Linked DNA regions of Homo sapiens: region 2 is linked to region 1. The links are contacts of gene promoters, found by promoter capture Hi-C in human tissues and cell types (Jung and others, 2019). All regions are on one chromosome and are shown on one strand. The core of a region is centred on a gene start or on the middle of the fragment in contact, and the rest is flanking DNA. Distances in the headings are between cores, read along the strand shown. Region 1 holds the start of SETD9 (SET domain containing 9). Region 2 overlaps LOC105378977 (a long non-coding RNA gene).

Region 1 (4,753 bases), core at 2,254-4,753:
AACTAAACACCAGTTACAATAAGATATCTAGAAATCCCAAATATTTGGAAATTAAAAACACATTTCTAAATATTTCATGGATTAAAAACATAAATAACAAAGAAATTTTAAAAATATTTTGTACTGAATGATAATGAAAATACAACATATCAAAATTCCTGAGATTTGGCTACAGTAATGTTTGGAAGGATAGTTATAACTTTAGATGCTTCTATAGAAATGAAGGAAAGACCAAAATCAGTGACCTAATATTCTATTCTAAGAAACTAGAAAAAGAAGAGAAAAATAAACTACTTTATGTTTAAGTAGAAAACATAAAATAATAAAGATAAGAATATGACTGGTCACGGTGACTTATGCCTGTAATTCCAATTATTTGGAAGGCATAGGCAGTTGGGTCACTTGGGGACCAGTTCAGGCAACACAGTGAGACCCCATCACTAAAAATAAAAAAAGAGAGAAAAAAGATAAGAACAGAGGTCAACAAAATAAAAAATAAGCAGGGAAAAGTAATAAAGCCAAAAGCTGTTTCTTTGAAAAGATTGACAAACCCTCAATTACAATGATGAAGAAGAGAACACAAATCACCAAAATCAGGAACAAAAATGGGCTATTACAACAGATCATACAGACATTAAAAGGTTAGTAAGACAGTATTTATAAACAACTTTATACCAAGATATTTGGCAACTTAGACAAAATGAACAAATTCCATAAAAATATAACTTACCAAACAACACAAGATGAAACGGACATTATGAATAGCCCTATATCTTTAAAATAAGTTGAATTTATTATCAAAGAAAATTACAAGCCCAGATGTTTTCACAGGCAAATTCTATCTAAAAAATTTTAAAACATACTTCAAAATAAATGTGGGATGACAATAGCATATATTAAAACCTACAGGATCTGACCAAAGAGGTACTCATAACTGAGTAGTTATGTCAGAAATCCAAGGACGGTCAACATTTGACAATGTGTCATCATTCACTACATGAATAAATGAATAGAAACTATATGGTCATCTCAATAAGCAGAGAAAAGCATTTGATATTTATCATTCATTTAAAATTTAAAACAATAAAAATTTTTGGAAAGTCAAAAATAGAACTTTAAAAAACTTCATAAAGTATACATACCTACTAGAAAACTACAGTAAATATTAAACTTGAAGGCAAAACCTCAAAAATAGAAGAATGCAGTAGACTTAAACCAATATGGGTAGATCTTCAAGATGTATTTTTGAGGAAATCAAATAAGTTGTGGATCCTTATAATATTTTAACAATACTCACACAAAATACTATGTATTTTCTATAAAAACATACGCGGGTATGTAAATACATAAAAATAAAACTGGCAGAAAACACACCCGTCTGATAACTTCTGAGAAGCGCCAAGTACCAGGATTGGTGGAAGTACAAGGTACGGTGTTTGGTTAAGGGTGACTTGAGCTTTAGCTACCATGTTTCTATTTGTATAACTTTAGATGCTTCCATTAGAAAAGAAGAAAAGATTAAAATTAGTGACCTAATAACCTACTTTAAGAAACTAGAAAAAGAAGGTTTTCATTAATTACTTAGCTAACCAAAATTTAATTTTAATACCATAAATATAAAAAAACTGTAAAAATATACAAAAACTGATTTTTTTCTTTTTTTAGACAAGTACATTACCATAGGTAAAGATTAAACTAGTTCTTTTGGGTTCTTTGTTAAGTTTGGAGACTATAAAGAAACTTTCTTGTATGCCACTTATTAATACATCCTGGAACTGAATTGACTCCATTTAGCAAGTCAGGTAAATCTAGATTATGCCAAATTATCAAACAAACACAGAGTCTGAGAGAAAGCCTCTAGAGTTTGCTAACATTCTATATGATATGAACGAAATAGAGACATTGGTAGATACTCTTTCTCTTTATTTCTTTCAGAATAGAACAAATTAGTCCCGCAGCTACTGGCGATTGGCTGAATTTTTTTTTTTTTTGAGACGGGATCTCACTCTGTCACCCAGGCTGGAGTGCAGTGGCGGATCTCGGCTCCCTGCAACCTCCGTCTCTCAGGTTCAAGCGATTCTTCTGCCTCAGCCTCCTGAGTAGCTGGGACTACAGGCACGTGCCACCAACGCTCGGCTAATTTTTGTATTTGTTCTTTTTTAGTAAAGACGGGGTTTCGCCATGTTGGCCAGATTGGTCCCGAACTCCTGACCTCAGGGGATCCACCCGCCTCGGCCTCCCAAAGTGCTGGGATTACAGGCGTGAGCCACTGCGCCCGGCCTTGGCTGAGTTTTTATTAGATCTGAGCCGTTCAATTTCAATAGTTTAGGATCCAACCTCACTCTCAGGCAAAGAATAGAGGAAATGATACCAACGTATTTATCTGTCAATAAACACTTGGTGATTTGAATATGGTTAAGGGATTCCTGTAGTTTGCCCCCCTTAAAACTGAACTTTGTCCAAACCTGTTCTAAATATGTGTGTGCGTGTGCATGCATCTGGGTGTTGGGGAGGAGCGGTCGTAAAGTTCCTTTTAAATTTCACCTATGGGGGACTACTTCCCACCTCATCCTATGAAGTCAACATTAGCCTAAATACCAAAGCCAGATTAAGACACTACAAGAAAACTACGAAACAATATCTCTCACGAACACAGATGCAGAACTTCTAGACAAAACGTTTCCAAATTGAAGCGAAGACCATATTAAAAGGACAAAAGCACCTCAGTGGTTGCTTGGGGACTGGGGGAGGGGCTGGATTACTATCTTGGCTGTGGTGTCGAAAACCTATCAAATTGTTCACTTTAAATATGTGCAGTTTATTGTATCCCAACCATTCCTCAACAAAGCTGTTTTTCAGAAACATTTGTCCATGTAGTTTTGCCTTTGAATGGTTGGGTCAATGAAGAGAAAAACGAGTGAAAACAGGGAATCATGACACTTTGTTTTTTTACGTGTAAATATTCGCAAAACGCCCAAACTGGTAACTTTGGGAACACGGGTTCACGCAGAAGAAGGGCTGCTGTCTGGGGAGGACTGAAACTCGGGTTCCCGAAGTCGGGCTGCTCTGGGGCCACGGAGAGAAGGGGAGAGAACGTCGAGGAAGAGGCAGAGCTCAAGTGGACGGAGGATGGAACACAGAGCGCGGCCGGGACAAAGGGGCAGGCCAGACAGCCGTGACAGAGAAACTAGGCGGTCCGCTCCTGGGACGCGGTCTCGGGGGCGGGTTCGCCCCTGAGGCCCGGTGACCCTTCGCCCGCAACCAGGGCTAGCGCTTGTGTGCGCCCACGGAAGCACCCGAGCGACCGGAGAAAGAAAAAGTGGTCAAGGGGACCTCCTTCCAGCTCTACGCGCCTCTCATTCAGAGAGGTGAGGTCAGGAAAGGGGAAGGACGAAGCCCCAGAGCAACAGAAGTCAGGCGGTGCCAGGAACACTGAGAGCGGAGCCAGGGGAAGGCGGCCGAGCGCGGCCCCCTCTCCTCCCGGGCCGGGGCGGGCCCGAGGCCTCGATCCGCCTTCCCCGCGCCGTCCTGGTCACGGCCCCGCGGGGCAGCCATGCCTGGCCGTCTGCTGCGGGGCCTGTGGCAGCGATGGCGCCGTTACAAGTACCGCTTCGTTCCCTGGATCGCACTGAACCTAAGCCACAACCCGAGGTGAGAGGGCGGGACGGCAGAACGAGGGGCACCTGCCTTCGGTTCCCAGACGCCACCACGGCGGCGGGACGCAAAGCGGAGAGCCTGAGGCTGACTGCCGGCCTGAGATGGGCGGGCCCGGGTGGGCAGGGACTGAGGTGGGCGGGCCGGGTGGGCGGGGACTGAGGCCTCGGAGGGGTTTAAGGAACGCGGGCCAGAGGCGGGCGGGGCCGAGGTTGGTGGAGTCCGAGGCCCGCTGGAAGCCTGAAGTGGGCGGTGGCTTCAGGTGGGCGGGGCCTATGGCCTCTTTCCCAGTGTCCGCTGCGCTGCCGGGCCCGCGAGGCCGAGCTCGCCAGCCGGATGTGTCGCCTGTTCTTCCCTGTTGCGTTCGGCACTGACTGGGGAGCTTGTATCTGGGCAAAAATGGAAACTTTTTAAAAAGACTGCCCTTACCGCGTGAGAGTGCGTGGCTTTTTCTCCACCAGGGGTTAATTAGGTGCTTGAACTTCCTCAGAAAAGCCAAGCCAGGGTTTATTTTCATAGTTCATACAAGTACTTCACGTGGTTAAAGAAGCCCATCCCGGCTGTGAGAATAGCGTGCAGTAGCTCGCGCGTTAAGAACGGGCAGAACGCCACTCAAAAGCACGTCGGGATGGTGGGTTTCGGATTGGGGTGAGTCCCGCCGGCGTTATTAAGGGCGCACCAGTGATCAGCTCAACACCGTGCTCACCAAAGAGGCCGACCGGGCCTCCCTGAAGTCAGTGTCCGACAAATAGGGAAACAAAGCGGTTTCCGGAAGGTTGCATGCTAGGGAAACAGGAGATCAGTTGTATCATGACTCGGAACCGTGAGGCGGGAATTACAACCTTTTTGTTCAAGTAAAAATAATGCAGTTAGTACAAAAAGATAATGATTATGGAAATAAGAGGTGCAGTCATTGAAGACGTTAGTCGTCCTGGAGGGAGTGTCACAAAGTATACGATGTTGAATTTGTCTTTGAAACTACAAGGCCATTTTTAAAAAGCCATTGAATGTGAGGTCATTCATTCTCATTGTGATGACATTCAGCTTGGCTGTTGGGTGTAGTACGGGAAAGAGCTGAACTTCGTTTCTGCCTCTGGCT
Region 2 (4,753 bases), core at 697-3,196, 600 kb before region 1:
TATGTGGGTGACCACAGTGCTTCACCACAGCCAAGAGAGCAAATCAGGAGTCAGGCCTGCAGATGATGGACCCTCTCAAGGCTTCATGGGCAGATGGCAAGTCACAGAATGGGGATAGAACTGTGTTGCTCCTGGAAGTCTGCAGTCTGGAAGTCTGGGCCCTAGTTAGGGCTACATTGCTTATTGCAATCAGAAGAGGAGAGGTGGGAAAGAGATTTGAAGCCTGATTAAAAGCCCACCAGCTGTTTACACCAGGTGACGCTGGCCTTGGGAAAACAACTACTGGCCCGAATAGCTGCCCCGTGGGTACTTAGCTCACCTGCTTCCTCATACTGCTTGCCTTCACCACGTGGAAAATTCTCTCAGCCTTTACCCATAATTTGTCTTTCTTCTTTTTGTTTTCTGGAGGGTAAAATGTAGTTTCAACTGAGAGATCAAACAAAGATACCCTAAATGGAAGCACTCTGTATAGAAGGAAGCTCAAGATTGCAATTAAAATGTTGGCAGCATCATTGGAAGGCAGAGAAACTATCACCTTGGAACAAAGATTGGGCTAAAATAATCCAGAATGAGGAAAATTGTTTAAAAGAATTATCTACACCATGAAGAAATTCATCAGCATTTTGTGTAAAAGATGGAAGGTCAGAAGTAACGTACCTTTCATTTATACTGTGTTCAGATGTAGCATTTCTCAATGGGTATGTTATTGATAATTAGGCAGTACTGTGTTATATACAATTTTTCCACATTGGCAGCCACCTCGCATCCCCAGCACCTCCTCCAAAGTGCCAGCAGCACTCTCAGTCATGGTAAAACTAAAAAAGTCCTGAGAAACGCTGCTCTAATGTTTCAGAGTGCATGTGAATAAGTTATTTCCTTTAATCAGCATAATGATTCAAAATATTTGTAACATTTTCACTCTTCAGATGATGAACTGAGACCGAAAATGAATTGCTGGCTTTTTCACCTGTCTAGTGAAGGGTGCTGCTGGGCCTCAAATTCGAATAGACTGATTCCTAATTCAGTTCCTTCTCTAAAACATTGTGCTATCTTTCAATGGAGGCAGAGATTTATACTTGATTTCATCAACTAATATATATATGCACCTGAACTTTTGTTGTTATTTATATTCTAGCTATGTTCTAAGGAACATAGATTTTGTTAAACAGAACACACTTTGTTTCGCTGAGGGCCTTGATGGACACTTAGCGGTAGGAGCTAAGGGGAACTGGGCTAATTTGTCTGATAGAGGGAGAAGGTCATGGAGCTCCCAGGGAAAATAAGGAAGGAAGAGAGGACAGGACAGAGAGCCTAGAGGTAGAGGACCTTGGGAAGCCTGGAACTATGTAACATGACCCACCCACATACTCTCACTCTGCATCCCAAGGTATTACTTGTACAAAGTATTACTCAAGAAATGCTTAAAGTGTGAATTGTTTTGTATAAAATGACAAAGGGCTGAGTATTACACCTGGGTTGAGAGAGGCTGATACAGAGCCAGTACATATGGACCCAGGAGCCAGAGGCAGGAGGGATTATGAGTGCAAGTTTCCTGACAATTAGAAAGAATCAAAGGCAGGGATGTTCACAGGTGTAGAATTGGTGGATTCACCCAGACATCTGAGACTGTGGAAGCACTAGCTCACATCTGGGTCACAGGCAACTCAAATGAAGGTTGAAATACTGCAATGCTGCTGGGCTCTACAATATTTTCCAGGAATTGTAGTCAGGAGAACTGATTTATGTCAAAGAAAACCAAGCTTGAAATATTTGAAGTGACTGATGATTTACTTCCTAATCTGATGAAGACCATAGAGGAATTCTCTGGATAGAGTTAAATTGATGAGTGAGGGACATGATGTAGACCCAGAAATAAACACCTGGAAGGAATATGCAGCCAGCGGCCCCAGAACTGTTGCTTCCATAAGCATGGAGAGGCTTATGGGTGGTCATTCTCTGTAATAAACATTGGATGGTTCCGTAACTCCAGATTCCATGAAAATGACAAAATGACAGAAAAGGACTGAATCCATATATGGAAAGAGGACCAAATCTTAAGCATAATTATTATCTAGTTATGATTGCTATACACTGGGATTCTCATATAAACATCCAGTGTGTTCACAATAGGAACCTGGTGAAACCTGGCTTGGATTCCTTTGGCCACATCACTCTGTTCATGTTTCAAATGAGTCTGCTCTGGTTTGTTGCTTTCTTGGATTCAAAGCCTTCTTACTGTTAGGAAAATGTTCCTTATCTTTGCCTGTGCCGTAATCTTTATGTGAGAAACAGGAGATGGTGTCCCCGGATGCATGCACAGCCCTGCCGCTGAGAATCTCACTGAGACTTGTGCCTGAGTGCTTCCCCCTAGGGGTTCTCTGTGACATTGCCCTGCAGCCGCAGGCAGGGTGCTCATCTGCTAGGCCACGGGGTCCTTCAAGGATCCCAAAGTTCCAAACCGTCCTGAGAGGAGAATAAAAGAAAGACCATTACTGATGCCAGATTTTTGTGTTGGCTTCTTCTACTCTGATACTTCCACAGGAAGTCTCTCAATTCCTCCTCACAGTCCTAATTATCTTGTCCAACCTTTTGCCCTAAGGCAGGCTTGGGGCTGACATATCCCAGACACAATTAGTCGGTGGTTGACTCTCATTCAAATAATAATAATAAATCAGAATGACATTGGGTTCTTTGAGGATGAACTTGATAGGCATGAAATCTCAAACAAAATCCTGCGGGTATGAATCCCGGTTCCTCTCCCCGACCCCTGGGCTGAGATTGCCTGTCCCAGCCAGCACAGAAGGAGGGGACACTCTATCTGGCTTCCACTCTTCCCTCAGTGGCCCTGGGTTTCCACTGCAACCAGTTTAGAATCCAATATTTTACAAGAAGATGCCACAGAAGGAGCACAGCTACTGCTTAGACAGGCAACTCTCAGGTTTCCAGAATTTAAATGGGTTCAGAAATTATCCTACAAGTCACAGTTAAAGGGTGTTCAGGGACAAGTATAAGGCCCACCAAATAGTTCCTTCATTAAGGGACATTTACAGAATGCAATCGGAGTCCCAAAATTCAAAGAAAAACCCCACAACCTTAAGCTAACCATCTTTAGCTTAATTCTCTATATGAAAACATGAATTTGAAATTTGCATGGCATGGCATTCTACCCAAGCCAATCGTTTTGGCAAATATAAAAATTTCCTGGTAAATATTAATAGGCTCCAACCATCGGAAGTGAGGAAGTGTTGGGGGAGTCAGTATATTCCTTCCTTCACAACCTGGCTACCAGGAGTCATATTACAATGAAAAGAGGTTTTAGAAAATATTCTGACAATACCTAGACATTTATTCACAAAAAGTCTCAAAAACAGTCTTAAACATGGCATGTAGCTAGGAAAGTCCCAGTCTTTATCCTTGGGCCCTCTTTTACCTTTGAGTCGTCTGTTCAGCATTCCCCATAAAAGGCTTAGTTGAATTTAGGACAAGCATATTCTGATGGCAGGTGTGTCCAGTTTTGTACAGGGTCAGGTACAGGGTGCTGTGTGAAGTGGAGGACGTAGAAGCAACTTGGGGGTCTAGACTGCAAGCTTGCACCATTTGTATTCAGAAAGCTGGGCTTGCCAATGCTTATGCTTCATTCAGGTAAGGGCAGAGTTTCTGGTATAACACCCCTAACCAACCATCTGGTTTGATTACTACTCACCTCACCAATTAGAAACTATTTTAAATATCCATTATGTTAGTAAGCCTCCTGGCATGGGTTTAGTTAATTATATTTAAATGCTAAGTGGACCATCTTAGAAGATGTTGACTCTGGCTAGGGTGCTTCATTTGAGTTAACCAACTCCAGCAGTAGTTAACTGCTGGATCCCCCAAACAGGGTATTTTAAATTCTAGCCTCCCCTCTTGGAGGATAGATTAGAGTTAACTTGTATATACAACTACATCACAATGTCTCAACTGAAAAATTTTATTTATTTATTTTTCTATTAAACCAACCAATCAGCAGCAAACGGAAGAATTTTAAAATGAAATACCACACAGACAATATAGCACTTGAGACAGTGAAGACTGCACAAAGCAAGATAGAGTCAGAAGCAAGATAACAGCCTTAATGAGCTGACTTCCTGCTTTGTCTTCAGGAGCGTGAATCTTACTTGCCTCAGTAGATGCTGAGTTCCATGTAATGGCAGGCTCTCTTTGCTGAGATGGATTTATTGTACAAGAAATAAAGCTTCATTGAGCTCTTTCTAAAACTTTCTATTTTAGAGCCTAGAATTTCACTGGCCCAAGTGTACCTAGAATAAATCAGATAACTGTATTCGGAGCTTTCAGAACCTTCAAAAGAAAATTTGTGGCAAGAGCCACAGAAGTGAGTCTGCTCCTCTATCTAAGTCTGTATCTCCACTCTCCTCTGTTGTGCTGAAAGGTAATAAAACTCTAGTAGTGAAACATCTAAGGGTGAAGAAGCATATTTCAAATGTGTTATCAACGCAGGAGCAGAAAGCCAAATACTGCATGTTCTCACTTACAAGTGGGAGCTAAATATTGGGTATTCATAGACTAAAGATGGCAACAATAGAAAATGGAGGCTACTAGAATGAGGAGGGAGGGGGGCAAGAGTTGAAAAACTATTGGGCATTATGCTTAGTACCTGGGTGATGGGATCAGTCATACCCCAAACTTCAGCATCATGCAATATACCCAGCTAACAAACCTGCACGTGTACCCCTTGGATCTAAAATAAAAGTTG

Evidence for each region. The method cuts DNA at HindIII sites, captures the fragments that hold promoters and counts their contacts. A contact is called where the count stands out against the background at its distance.
Region 2: a contact is called between a fragment that was not itself captured here and the fragment with the promoter of SETD9 in region 1, in 1 of the 25 tissues and cell types used here (lymphoblastoid cells).

What each region holds. Positions count from the first base shown.
Region 1 is chr5:56,906,093-56,910,845 of GRCh38, forward strand. It overlaps SETD9 (SET domain containing 9), which reads left to right and starts at 3,504. Exons shown (of 6, transcript NM_153706.4): 1 at 3,504-3,651. The coding sequence starts at 3,554. RefSeq lists enhancers at 3,140-3,229, 4,020-4,069, 4,165-4,753 and silencers at 3,380-3,589, 3,770-3,979. The HindIII fragment of the contact is 10,546 bases long and covers 1-4,753 here.
Region 2 is chr5:56,312,386-56,317,138 of GRCh38, forward strand. All of the region lies in intron 2 of LOC105378977 (a long non-coding RNA gene), which reads left to right. Among named protein-coding and RNA genes, the nearest start is that of ANKRD55, 81 kb to the left of the region's middle. RefSeq lists a silencer at 2,288-2,427. The HindIII fragment of the contact is 3,928 bases long and covers 1-3,910 here.